3 separate regions of the Homo sapiens genome follow, and regions 1 and 2 are each linked to region 3. Evidence: promoter capture Hi-C in human tissues and cell types (Jung and others, 2019). All regions are on one chromosome and are shown on one strand. Each heading gives the region's core, a stretch centred on a gene start or on the middle of the fragment in contact. The rest is flanking DNA. Distances are from core to core; before and after follow the strand shown.

Region 1 (4,154 bases), core at 175-2,674, 82 kb before region 3:
CAGGGGTCCCCAGTGCCCATGGCTATGGACTAGTACCAGTCCAGTCCATAGCCTGTTAGGAACCAGGCCACACGGCAGGAGGTGAGTGGCGGGCAAGTGAAGCTTCTCTGTATTTACAGCCACTCCCCATTGCTTGCATTACCACCTGAGCTCCTCCTCCTGTCAGATCAGCAGCAACATTAGATTCTCATGGGAGCACAAACCCTATTGTGAACTGCACATGTGGGGGATCTAGTTTGTATGCTCCTTGTGAGAATCTAACAAATGCCTGATGATCTGAGGTGGAACAGTTTCATCCCCAAACCATTCCTACCACCTCTGGTCTGTGGAAAAATTGTCTTCCATGAAACCCATCCCTGGTACCAAAAATGTTGGGGACCGCTGCTATAAGGAGTCGAGTAGGATGTACCTCTAATTAGAACTGCCTTTTAGAATGCTGGTTCCTGTCACAAGGTGGTGGGTGGAGGGTGCTGTGCACACCACTGCCTGTACACCTGTACTGAGGGGTCTCTCCACACAGACGCCCTGAAAGCCATCACAGAGGTGACCACCACACTACAGCACATTCTCATCCGGCTGGAGAACCTGCAGAAGCTAACGGAGCTGCAGCGGGACCTGGTGGGCATAGAGAACCTCATTGCTCCTGGCAGGGTGAGTGACCTTGCTCTGGGAATGTTTTTTGAGCTACTTTGGTTTTTCAATTGAGATATAATTTACATACCACAAAAGTCACCATTTTAAAATGTATAATTTTGGCCAGGCACAGTGGCTCATACCTGTAATCTGAATACTTTGGGAGGCTGAGGTGGGAGGATCGCTTGAGCCCAGGAGTTCAAGACCAGACTGAGCAACACAGGGAAACCCCATTTCTATGAATTAAAAAAAAAAAAAAAAAAAAAGAATTGCTGGGTGTGGTGGCGCACACCTGTGGTCCCAGCTACTCAGGAGACTGAGATGGGAGGATCGCTTGAGCCAAGGAGGTCGAGGCTGGAGTAAGCCCTGATCACAGCACTGCACTCCAGCCTGACAACAGAGCAAGACCCTGTCTCTGTTAAAAATGAGTAAATACAGCCAGGCACAGTGGCTCACGCCTGTAATCCCAGCACTTTGGGAGGCCAAGGCAGACAGATCACCTGAGGTTGGGAGTTCGAGACCAGCCAGACCAACATGGAGAAACCCTGTCTCTACTAAAAATACAAAAAATTAGCAGGGCATGGTGGCACATGCCTGTAATCCCAGCTACGCAGGAGGCTGAGGCAGGAGAATCGCTTGAACCCGGGAGGTGGAGGTTGCAGTGAACCAAGATCACGCCATTGCACTCTAGCCTGGGTAACATGAGCGAAACTCCGTCTCAAAATAAAATAAATAAAATAAAATAAAATAGGTACATATATACATACATACACACATACATACATACAAAAAATATATAATTGAGTGGGTTTTAGTATCTTCACAAGGTTATGTAGCCATCAATGTCGAATTCAGAACATTTTCATCACCCCAAAGTGAAACCCCCACAGCAATTAACAGTCACTTCCCATCACTATTTTGAAGGGAACCCTGTTCTCAGGAGACTCTGTTCTGAGGTAACCCTGTTCTGGGTGGGGATGCTGTTCTGTGGGGACCTCGTTCTGCTCCCTAACCCCTGGCAACCACTGATCTGCTTTCTGTCTCTAAGGAGTTACCTGTCTGGGCATTTCATAGAAATGGTATCACACATTAATGTGGCCTCTTGTGACTCTTCTTTCACTCAGAATAATCTTTTCAAGGTTCATTCATGTTCCTTTTTTTTTTTTTTTTTTTTTATTTGAGACAGAGTCTTGCTCTGTCACCAGGCTGGGGTGCAGTGCCGCGATCTTGGCTCACTGCAACCTCCGCCTCCCAGGTTCAAGTGATTCTCCTGCCTCAGCCTCCCAAGTAGCTGGGACTACAGGCACATACCACTATGCCCAGCTAATTTTTGTATTTTTAGCAGAGACAGGGTTTCACCATGTTGGCCAGGATGGTCTCAAGCTCTTGACCTTGTGATCCACCCACCTTGGCCTCCCAAAGTGCTGGGATTACACGCATGAGCCACCGTGCCCGGCCTCATGTTCCTTTTTGTGGCTGAATCATACTCCATCATGCATGTATCACACGTCTCTCCACTCATCTGATGGACACTGGGTTATTTCCACTTCTTGGCTGTTACGAATAGTGCTGCTGTGGACGTTCATGTACAAGTTTTGTGTGGACTTATGTTTTCAGTTTTGAGTATATACCATATACAGGTTCATATGGTAATTCCATGTTTAACATTTTGAGGAACTGCCAAACTGTTTTCCAAAGTGACTGAACCATTTTTCATTCCCACCAACTCGTATGAGACTTCCAGTTTCTCACATCATGTGTCACTTTTTGGTTCTAGCCATTTTAGTGAGTGTGTAATGCTGTCTTGTGTGGTTACAATTTGTATTTCCCTGATAGCTAATGATATTGAGCATCTTTTCATGTGCTTATTGGCCATTTGTAGGCCTTTTTTGGAGAAATGTCTATTCAAATCCTTTGCCCACCTTTTATTTTATTCAGAAATTGTAAAGAACTCTTAAAACCCAATAGTAAAAAGACAACCTGTTGAGTTTTAAGAGTTCTTTATATATTCTGAATGCTAGACCTTTATCAGACTATGATTTGCAAACATTTTCTCCCATTGTGTGGGTTGTCTTTTCACTGTCTTGATGTGGCCTTCATTTACAACATGAAAGCTTTTAATTTATCTATTTTTTTTCTTTAGTTGCTTGTGTCTTAGATGTTATATCTAAGAAACTATTGTCAGCCAAGTGTAGCGGTGCACACCTATAGACCCAGCTACTCGGGAGGCTAAGGTAGGAGCATTGCTTGAGCCCAGGAGTTCAACGTTGCAGTGAGCTATGATCCCACCACTGCACTTTAGCCTGGACAACAGAGTGAGACCCTGTCTCAGAAAAAAAGGAATTAATGCGAGCACTGCCACCTGCCTGGGGCAGCCTTAGGGCAGGGCTGGCGGGGGCGACCTGTGCTGCTGCAGTGCAAGACTCAGAGTGCCGTGGCCCAGCACCCGGTAGCTTGTCCAAATGGCTCTGGCTCAACATTGGTGGCACCTACTTTCTCACCACCCAGCAGATGCTGTGCCAGGACCTGAAATACTTCCTGTACTCCTTGTATCAGGCTAACCCCGACAAGGATGAAACTGTTGCCTATTTAATGGACAGAGACCCCACCTATTTTGGGCCTGTGTTGAACTACCTGAGACGTGGCAAGCTGGTGATTAACAAAGACCTTGTGGAGGAAGGAGTGTTGGAAAAAGCAGAATTTTACAGTATCACTTCATTAATAAAACTTGTAAAGGACAAAATTAGAGAACAAGAGAGCAAAACATCACAGGTGCCCATGAAGCATGTGTACCACGTGCTTCAGTGTCAGGAGGAGGAACTCACACAGGTGGTGTCCACCATGTCCGACAGCTGGAAGTTTGAACAACTGGTCAGCAATGGCTCTTCTTACAACTATGGGAATGAAGATCAGGCCAAGTTCCTCTATGTGGTGTCCAAGAAACTTCACAACACCCCATACAGTATGGCCAGTGAACCCAGAAAGAAGGCCAAGATTTTGCAAGAACAAGGTTCAAGGATGTGAGGGACACAGTATTGACAGCTGAAAAAATGATTTACTCTTTCCCAAGATGCAATGAACTACCATGTCCAGGAAGCTTGGCTGCGAGAAGGAACCTGCTTTTGATCATTTTTCTAGAGATCTGGGTGTGAATCCTTTTGTGCTTCTGAGGTGGGTGGTGAGAGACAGGTCCAGCTGTCCAAGGCCAGGTGTCCCCAAGGGGAGGAGCATTCTGGCCAGGTGGGTACTATCTCTTGAGGGGGGCCAGAGACTGAGGCAGATGCTCCCAGTCAGCCCACTCAATCCCCGAAGATCATGTAAAGGACAGAGTTCTTGGTACTACACATAGTCTGTAAAAGCAGCCTGCGCTTCACTGGCAGGAAGCGGCCACGGCCTCATCGGCATCCAGCACGCCGTGGCCTCGGGTCTGGCTGCCAGGCCTTAGGCTCAGTCAGGAGTCTGCTCTGCCTCCCAGGTGGGATCGCTGGTTGCTATCAGCCTCACAGAGCTCCTGACAAAGG
Region 2 (4,353 bases), core at 1,846-4,345, 91 kb after region 3:
ATGCATTCTATGGAAACCATACTTGACGTTTTGAATTTTGATCTTTTTCTGGGCTAGCAGTATGCCTCCAGATACTCTCGAGATGCCAGATAGCTCCTCGTCAGCCACATCATGAGAAGGGGGAATGACCCCTGCTCTACAGGGCACTGTGTTGCCAGCTGAGTTTGCCCAACTGTAGGCTAATGTAAGTGTTCTGAGCACATTTAAGGCAGGCTAGGCTAAGCTATGATGTTAGGTAGATTACGTGTATTCAATGCTTTTTTTTTTTTTTTTTTTGAGACAGAGTTTCACTCTCCCACCTGGGCTGGAATGCAGTGGCGCGATCTCAGGTCACTGCAGCCTCCGCCTCCTGGGTTTAAGCAATTCTCCTGCCTCAGCCTCCCGAGTAGCTGGGATTACAGGCACCTGCCACCATGCCCGAGTAACTTTTTGTGTTTTTAATAGAGATGGGATTTCACCATGTTGACCAGGCTGGTCTCCAACTCCTGACCTCAGGTGATCCACCCGCCTTGGCCTCCCCAAGTGCTGGGATTACAGGCATGAGCCCCTGTGCCTGGCCTCAGTGCATTTTTGACCTAAGTATTTTCAATTTACAATGGGTTTATTGGACATAATCCCATCCTAATTAAGGAACATCTGTAGTCTACAAAGAGATACTTGCCAGTGTTCATTTAGCTCTGCTGTACTTTAAATAAAAGATATGTGTATCTTTAGTTCAAAGCTGGTGCCTTGGAACGGTGTCAAACATGAGAAGAATGTTCCAACAGCAAGATGGAATCATTGTCTTGCAGTGTTGAAATTAGACCGGTGGTGGCCAGGCGCAGTGGCTCACGCCTGTAATCCCAGCACTTTGGGAGGCCGAGGCGGGAGGATCATGAGGTCAGGAGATTGAGACCATCCTGGCTAACACAGTGAAACCCCGTCTCTACTAAAAAAAATACAAAAAATTAGCCAGGCGTGGTGGCGGGCGCTTGTAGTCCCAGCTACTCAGGAGGCTGAGGCAGGAGAATGGCATGAGCCGGGAGGCAGAGCTTGCAGTGAGCCGAGATCGCGCTACTGCACTCCAGCCTGGTGGGCGACAGAGTGAGACTCCGTCTCAAAAAAAAAAAAAAAAAAAAAGAAAAGAAATTAGACCGGTGGTGTTTTCATCCTTTTTCCTTGAGAATAAGTTTTCTGGATTTTAGTCTATATATTGAATAAAGCCTACAGGTCAAAGAATAGTAGGGACTTCTGAAGATTCAGGAGTGGCTTTAGAGAGGTAGCAGGGACATCATGATGTTTTTCAGCTCTTTAAAAAGATAGGAGTGGGCCGGATGCTGTGGCTCACGCCTGTAATCCCAGCACTTTGGGAGGCCGAGGTGGGTGGATCACTTGAGGTCAGGAGATCGAGACCAGCCTGGCTAACACAGTGAAACCCTGTCTCTACTAAAAATACAAAAATTAGCCGGGCATGGTGGCAGATGTCTGTAATCCCAGCTACTCGGGAGGATGAGGCAGGAGAATTTCTTGAACCCGGAAGGTGGAGGTTGCAGGGAGCCAAGATCATGCCACTGCACTTCAGCCTGGGCAACAGAGTGAGACTCCATCACAAAAGAATAAAAAAAAGGCATGGACCTTAATTCATCCTAATTCAGTTTTTGTAATCATGTGCAGAAACAAGTAACATATATATAAAAAGGCAGGAGAGAATGTAAACTTGGACTTTATTTATTCACAGTCACCAAGCAGTTTGGTTGATAATGTCTCTGAAAGCATGGACAAGTGAAATATGTAAGAGCAGAGCTCTTGGGGGCCAGGTGCAGTGGCTCATGCCTGTAATCCCAGCCTTCGGGAGGCTAAGGCAGGTGGATTGCTTGAGCCTAGGAGTTTGAGACCAGCTTGACAACATGATTAGACCTCATCTCTACAAAAAATACAAGAATTAGCTGGGTGTGGTGGCACATGCCTGTAGTCTCAGCTGCTCAGGAGGCTGAGACCGGAGAATTGATTGAGCCTGGGAGTTTGAGGCTGCAGTAAGCTGTGATTACACCACTGTACTCCAGCCTGGGTGACAAAATGAGTCCCGGTCTCAAAAAAAAAAAAGAAAAAAAAACAGGAGCAGAGCTCTTGGACAAAGCCCTGCTGTGGAAAGCTTGCTTCATCTGGCTGCAGCCGCTCCACAACGCCCGTCATCTTGCTCAGGAAGCCACAGCACTACTCTAGGAAAGGGGCAGAGAGGGGCCTGGGTCTCCCACAGCTGAGAATCCTTTAAACAGTGCCTGTAGGGCCCTCTATTGTGGATTTGGTAGTTCTGCCTGCACCGAGGGAGATGCTTGCAGGTGCTTCTGAACCCTGTGTTTGGGAATTAGCTGCGCATACAATTAAGGCTTTTGGGTATAGTAAAATTTGTGTGCCTTTGACCCTGTGGTTCTGAGTCCTCGATGTTAATGACAGAGCGGACATTGCAGCCCTTCTGTCTGCCAGCCAGCACCTCATTGGAAGTGTTTCATTGAAACGTCACACCCATATGCTGAGGCTGTCCTGTTGTTATCCCATTTTATGGATGAGGGAACATTCACACTTAGAAGTTAAGTGAGTGGCCCAGGAAACTACAGTTTACCAGTACCCAAGCTGGGCTTTAAATTCTGACTGCCCCCTGCCTCCCCAAGGGGATTGTGCACAGCACAGAAGTTCACACACGATGCTTTTTAGTATCAGCTTAGGTGGAGATCTGTGTTTATGTAGAATGCTGAGGAAACCACAGGCATAGTATGATTTCACGTACGAACCTGTGCATAAAGACTTCTGGAAAGAGTCATTGCTGGGCAACGAGGCTTCACGTGATTTGTGTATTTTTGTAGTCTTCAGAATTTTTTATGATTAGCATATGTCATTCTTATTGAAGTGTGGGGTTGTTATCAAAAAGTAAATTTAGATGTGGGAGAAATTCATATGTGATTGATTTTCAAAAGATTGCTGTAAAGTTGCTGGTGAAGGATGAGTGATCAGACACCATCAGAGCTGGAGAGGCAGCAGATGGGAATTGTGTGTTCCCAGTTCCCTGAAGAGCAGCTGGAGAGAGATGCCTCTGGTGCCGCCCCAGAATACGCAATGGGCATCTCGCCACATGGGTGTTTGGGCTGGTGCATTGCTGCTGGCTGGCGCCTTCTTTTCAGGAACATTGTGGGACATGGGTATCCTCAGCCACAGTTCTGTGGACAGGAAGACCCTGGGCCTCTCTAGTTTCTTTCTTTCTTTTTTTTCTTTTTCTTTTCTTTTTCTTTTTTTTTTTTTTTTGAGATGGAGTTTCACTCTTGTCACCCAGGCTGGAGTGCAGTGGCACAATCTCAGCTCACTGCAACCTCCACCTTCTGGGTTCAAGTGATTCTCTTGGCTCAGTCTCCCTAGTAGCTGGGATTACAGGCGCCCGCCACCACGCCTGGCTAATTGTTGTACTTTTAGTAGAGACGGAGTTTCACCATGTTGACCAGGCTGGTCTCAAACTCCTGGCCTCAGGTGATCTGCCCACCTCGGCCTCCCAGAGTGCTGGGATCACAGGCATGAGCCACTGTGCCTGGCCTAGTTTCTTAATTGAAGTAAAACAGAGTAAGATGGCATGCAGGGCTAATCATTAGCCCAGCAGGTAAGCACCATGGCTCTGCAGCCAGCTGCCTCCTTAGAAAGTGGGGTGTTGCCCCATGGAAGTGGTGGCATGCTCTTCTGGTAGCATTGTTGAAATGAAAACAGGTTCAGTCCTTGATCACTAGGCTTTTTGTACCCGGGTACCTCTGGGGACTTGGCAGAGAGTTTGATCTCTCAGTGTCCAGGGGTTAACTTTCTACCTGAGAGTAGCACCCCATGCTTCTCCAGCACCTGCTCCTAACCAGGAAATTGGGGTAGACCAGAACCCCAGTCTTCCCAGCAGCTCAGTGTTTCTTGCCCCGGAGCATCTGCCTTCATCACAGTGACTCTGAACACGCTGCCATGGTGACATCTGGTAAACCTTAGGATGGCCATGGAAAACGACTCTTTGCCCTGTTTCTTCTTGGCTTCCCTTGCGTACAAGGATGAAGGAGGTGGTTTAACTTTATTTTTGTCCTTTACTTTTTAAGTCTAAAGTAAGTGCTTGAATCGGGTGGGTTTTCATTTTTTTGCTTTCTCACCCCTCAGGTTGGCCCCTAACTTGGCCTCTCACCCTCGTGTCAGCTGTTAGACACTGACTCAGTGGCTCAGAATATGAAAGGCTCAGGAAGTAGCATGCTGGCCCCACCTCCCTGTCCCCATACCTTAGCAGAGCAGCTGCCCAGCAGGGCCTCCTTCTCTTTCCTAAGAGTTTACTCCATCCATGGTGGGTGTCTTGGTAGGCCCGAGATA
Region 3 (4,383 bases), core at 239-2,738:
TTCTAGCTTCTTGAGTGGAAGCTTAGAGCAGTAATTTTATTTTTCTTTTTCCTTTTTTTTTTTTTTTTTTGAGATGGAATCACACTCTGTTGTCCAGGCTGGAGTGCAGGTGGGATGATCTCTGCTCACTGCAACCTTCGCCTCCCAGGTTCAAGCAATTCTCCTGCCTCAGCCTCCTTAGTAGCTGGGATTACAGACACCTGCCACCACACCCAACTCATTTTTTGTATCTCTAGTAGAGACGGGGTTTTCACCATTTTGACCCGGCTGGTCTCAAACTCCTGAGCTCAGGTGATCTGCCCACCTAGGCCTCCCAAAATGCTGGGATTACAGGTCTGAGTCATTTCACCTGGCCTAATTTTCAATCCTTCTTCTAAAGCTATCAAATTTCCTCTAAGCAGTGTTTTAGTTGCACTGTACAGCATTTGATATGTCTTATTTTTCACTGTTCTTGTCAACATATTTTAATCTTCCACTGTGATTATTGACCCATTGATTATTTAGAAGTGTGACATGTAATTTCCAAGCATTTGCAGATTTTCCAGTAATTTTTCTGTTATTGACTTTTAATTCAGAGAGGACACACTGTAAGATTTCAATCCGTTGAGATTTGCTGAGACTTGTATAAGGTCCATGATATGGTCTATTTCGATAAACATCCTATGTGCACATGGGAAGAATAAGTATTTTATAGTGTTGTACACACGTGAATTAGGCCAAGTTGGTTAATCCTATTGTTCAAACTGTGTGAGGTTGATTCAAGGATAAAGAAATAAACCAGTGGGATAGAGTTCCGAGACACACACACACACACACACACACTCTTCAGCTGATTTATGTTGAGATGTTGGGGACTCCTCCAATTCGGTGGAAAAAAAATGATGCTTTTCAATAAATGATGCCAGGTCAATTGGATATCTACACGAAAAAAAATGAGCTCTAGCCCCGTACCACACCATTCACAATAATTAATATGTAATCAATCATAGATCTAAATATGAGCCCTAAAACAAGCTTCTAAAAGGAAATACAGGAGGATATCCCAATAAAAAGGTACTAACCATAAAGAAAATATTGATAAATTGGACATCACTAAGAGTAACTCCTGTTCATCCAAAGCAAAAGTAAACCACAAAATAGAGGAAGATATTTGCAATAACTTCAATAAATGCGAATCCAATAATCCATCTACAATACAAAGGGCATGCGTCCGGACCAAGAACACGTCTCCAGACTCTGGAAAGAACCTCTACGAACGAAGAAGACAACCCAATTTTCAAATGGACCCCGGGGAACACCCAGGCGGCTGGGGCTGGCTCTAGGTCCCCACTGCTCTGCCTTGCGGGGGCCGCTCCGGCCTGGTCGCCTTCTCCGGGCGCATCCAGGGAACTCGCTCGGTCCTCCTTAAGCGGGGAAGCTCGGAAAGCGTCTCCCCGACTCCGCCCCCAGGGTTGCCTTTCCCTTAGAAGGCCAAGCCCCAAGCCCAGCCTCTCGCCAGCTGGGAGTCGCGCGCTGCCCACCTCGCTGCCCAGGCCCCCGACGCCGCGGCAGGAGCCCCCCAAGAGCGCGGGAAGCCCCGTGGACCTGGCGCTCCCGGCTCGGGCGTGGACGGGGCGGGCGCCGGGGCGGGGCGCGCGTCCTCGCGGGTCTGAATGGAAGGGTCGAGGTCGTCGTCGGCGGCGAGCAGATCCTGAAGCCAGAACTCCACCCCGGCGCCCGCGCCATGCGGCGGGAGAGGTGAGCGCGGCGGGCGTGGCGTCCGTGCCGGGGTGCCCGGGGTGCCACGGGAACGGCGAGGCCGGGGACACGCGCGCAGGACGCCAGCGGCGGAGGTGGGCGGCCCCGGGCCGGGGCGGGGAGGGCCGGGTCCTGGCAGTCGCCGTGGGGGACGCGCTGGGCTGTGCCCTCCGCCCCCGCCGCCCACGCACTCGTCTTCGAGGGCGGGCCCGGCGGCCCCGGAGCAAACCGCCGTCTCCCCGCGGCCCCACCGGTCCCTGGCAGCCTCGGGGAATGTCTGTAGCTGAATTCGGGCTCTGAAAGAAGGTGGCGCTGGGTTTTTAAAGATTTGGGGCACAAAAAACGAGAGCGGACCCGGCGCCGGCTACGGCCCTTCCCGAGGGCCACGCCCAGCCCGGCGCCCCGCGCGCCCCGTTCCCCGCGCCGCCTCCCTCCACCCGGCTGAGCGCTTGTGCCCGCAGGTGCGGCGCCCCCCACCCGCGTCGCCGCCATGGAGGTGCTGCGGCGCTCCTCGGTCTTCGCCGCCGAGATCATGGACGCCTTTGACCGCTCGCCCACAGACAAGGAGCTGGTGGCCCAGGCCAAGGCGCTGGGCCGGGAGTACGTGCACGCGCGGCTGCTGCGCGCCGGCCTCTCCTGGAGCGCGCCCGAGCGTGCCGCGCCGGTCCCGGGACGCCTGGCTGAGGTGTGCGCGGTGCTGCTGCGCCTGGGTGAGTGCGCCCTGGTGGGATCCCCAGCTGCGCCTCCTCCCCTGCTGGGCCGCAGCCTCCCTCCGAGGCCGAGATGGGGGTCCGGCCCAGGGGCGCCCACCCCCTGCCTGGGACGGCCAGGCGCTCGGGACAGGGCCACCCAGGCGGGTGCTCCCGGATCTGCCCTCTCAGGCCTCCCACGCCACAGGCCCCCCCATCAGCTGCCTGCTCAGCCCAGATTTCAGTCATGCTGGCCATAAACAATAGAAAGCTCCAGAAAGAATAATCTATTAGTGGGTGGCTAAGCTTCCACAGTGACCCTTGTTCTCAGCTGGGCACAGAAACCCTTTGTAGGAGCACGTGTCCCGATGTTTATTTTGGAAAACAGATTCTTGCTGTTACTGGCCGAGATCCCGCCCGCTGCCCTCTGGATTCCGAGGCCTCCGAGGCCCCCCCATTGGAAACTGCGCCCACCGGGCTGGGTAGCCAAAACCTCAGTATTCGTTGGTGCTGTGAGGACATCTGGGGGTGCTCGGTTCTGGGGTCACACACGGTCCACTGGCTGCCCCCACCGTCTCCAAGGTCTGGACCCAAGAGGGAGGGACCAGCCCCACTGTGACTGTCCAGTCCCCTCACCACAGCTGGGCTGTGGCCGTCACCTGGGAATGTTTATGTGATGCCCGAAGAGGGCACATGGGGCGCCTGTGGCTGAGCCCGGGAAGGGGAGGTGACAGCATAGGTGAAACTGAATCGGTGGCTCTCCAGGCAGGGGGTTGGAGTCGGAGGGCACGACCCCGTGAGGGGACACGCTGCCTCCTCTCAGGCTGGCGCTGGCATGGGCTCTAGGTGGCCCCTGCCCTTACGTGGTGGGCTGGGCCCAGAGAGCAAAGCTGTGTAGACCTGGCCTGCCCAGGAGTGTGTGTGGGGTGCAGACAGAATCCATGGGGACCAGCACAGAGCCTCCAGGAGGAGGTGGAGTCCCATCTGAGAAGTTCAGAAGGAGGGAGAGGTCTCTGGGTGGGAGCTAGGGGGTTGGTGGGGCTCCATGAGATCCGCCGCCTGCTGCTGCCTCTAGTCGGGCTCTGAGAATGACCCTAGGGGATCCTTTTAGTGGCCTTCTGAAAAGATGATGCCAGACCCCTGGAATGGCTGGGAAGAAGTCCCAGATGTCTAGGGGGACCCCAGAGGGACACAGCTCAGACCTGCATCTGCCCTCACGGCTGCTCAGGGTCAGTCCCTTGAGGCCAGCGCTGTCTCCCTGCCCTTGGGCAGTGCAGACAGGAAGAAGCCCGGGTTGTGTCCCCACCTTCAGTCTGGGGCCAGCCTGCAGCAGCCCCGGAGATCTGTGTTTGGGAGCTGCCGGGTCAGTCCTGGGAATTTCCATGTCGTCCCCCGCCCCCAGCCAGCCTCTCATGGGCTCTGCTCTGCTTCCAGATCTTAATTAATGAGATACAGAGCAGCCTTTATCAGCTGGGATGGTCCGGTCAGCAGCATTACCCTGTTTGCTTTGGCTGGAGAACTGGCCGGGCTGCGGACTCCCAATCCCAGGGCCCTGTGGCATTCTCGGCACCATCTGCCCCGTGCCTGTGCGCTGCTGCTGCCAAGGGTGCCACAGGCAGCACTGGGGCGGTGGGCCTGTAGGGGCCATCCTCGGCTGCCAGGGGCAGGGCTGATGCAGTGCCACCTCCAAGCACATCCCCTTGGCAGCAAGAGCCCAGGTGGGAGCGTGGCAGTGAGGGTGGCCCAGGACAGCGGCCCAGCCAGCCCAGGTGGGAGCGTGGCAGTGCGGGTGGCCCAGGACAGGGGCCCAGCCAGCCCAGGTGGGAGCGTGGCAGTGCGGGTGGCCCAGGACAGCGGCCCAGCCAGCCCAGGTGGGAGCGTGGCAGTGCGGGTGGCCCAGGACAGGGGCCCAGCCAGCCCAGGTGGGAGCGTGGCAGTGCGGGTGGCCCAGGACAGC

What was found. The method cuts DNA at HindIII sites, captures the fragments that hold promoters and counts their contacts. A contact is called where the count stands out against the background at its distance.
Region 1: a contact is called between a fragment that was not itself captured here and the fragment with the promoter of BOK in region 3, in 3 of the 25 tissues and cell types used here (IMR-90 fibroblasts, lymphoblastoid cells and mesenchymal stem cells).
Region 2: a fragment that was not itself captured here is called in contact with the fragment with the promoter of BOK in region 3 in 2 of the 25 tissues and cell types used here (IMR-90 fibroblasts and hippocampus).

What each region holds. Positions count from the first base shown.
Region 1 is chr2:241,475,337-241,479,490 of GRCh38, forward strand. It overlaps FARP2 (FERM, ARH/RhoGEF and pleckstrin domain protein 2), which reads left to right. Exons shown (of 27, transcript NM_014808.4): 19 at 521-651. MIR3133 (microRNA 3133) reads left to right here and starts at 2,569; the gene lies at 2,569-2,646. It also overlaps the pseudogene KCTD5P1. The HindIII fragment of the contact is 3,627 bases long and covers 1-3,238 here.
Region 2 is chr2:241,646,525-241,650,877 of GRCh38, forward strand. The region is part of intron 1 of ATG4B (autophagy related 4B cysteine peptidase); the gene reads left to right. Among named protein-coding and RNA genes, the nearest start is that of ATG4B, 11 kb to the left of the region's middle. The HindIII fragment of the contact is 8,495 bases long and covers 1-4,353 here.
Region 3 is chr2:241,557,257-241,561,639 of GRCh38, forward strand. BOK (BCL2 family apoptosis regulator BOK) reads left to right here and starts at 1,489. Exons shown (of 5, transcript NM_032515.5): 1 at 1,489-1,737; 2 at 2,199-2,447. The coding sequence starts at 2,228. It overlaps BOK-AS1 (BOK antisense RNA 1), which reads right to left and starts at 1,887. Exons shown (of 2, transcript NR_033346.1): 1 at 1,521-1,887. RefSeq lists silencers at 2,152-2,231, 2,262-2,331, 2,382-2,511. The HindIII fragment of the contact is 1,356 bases long and covers 518-1,873 here.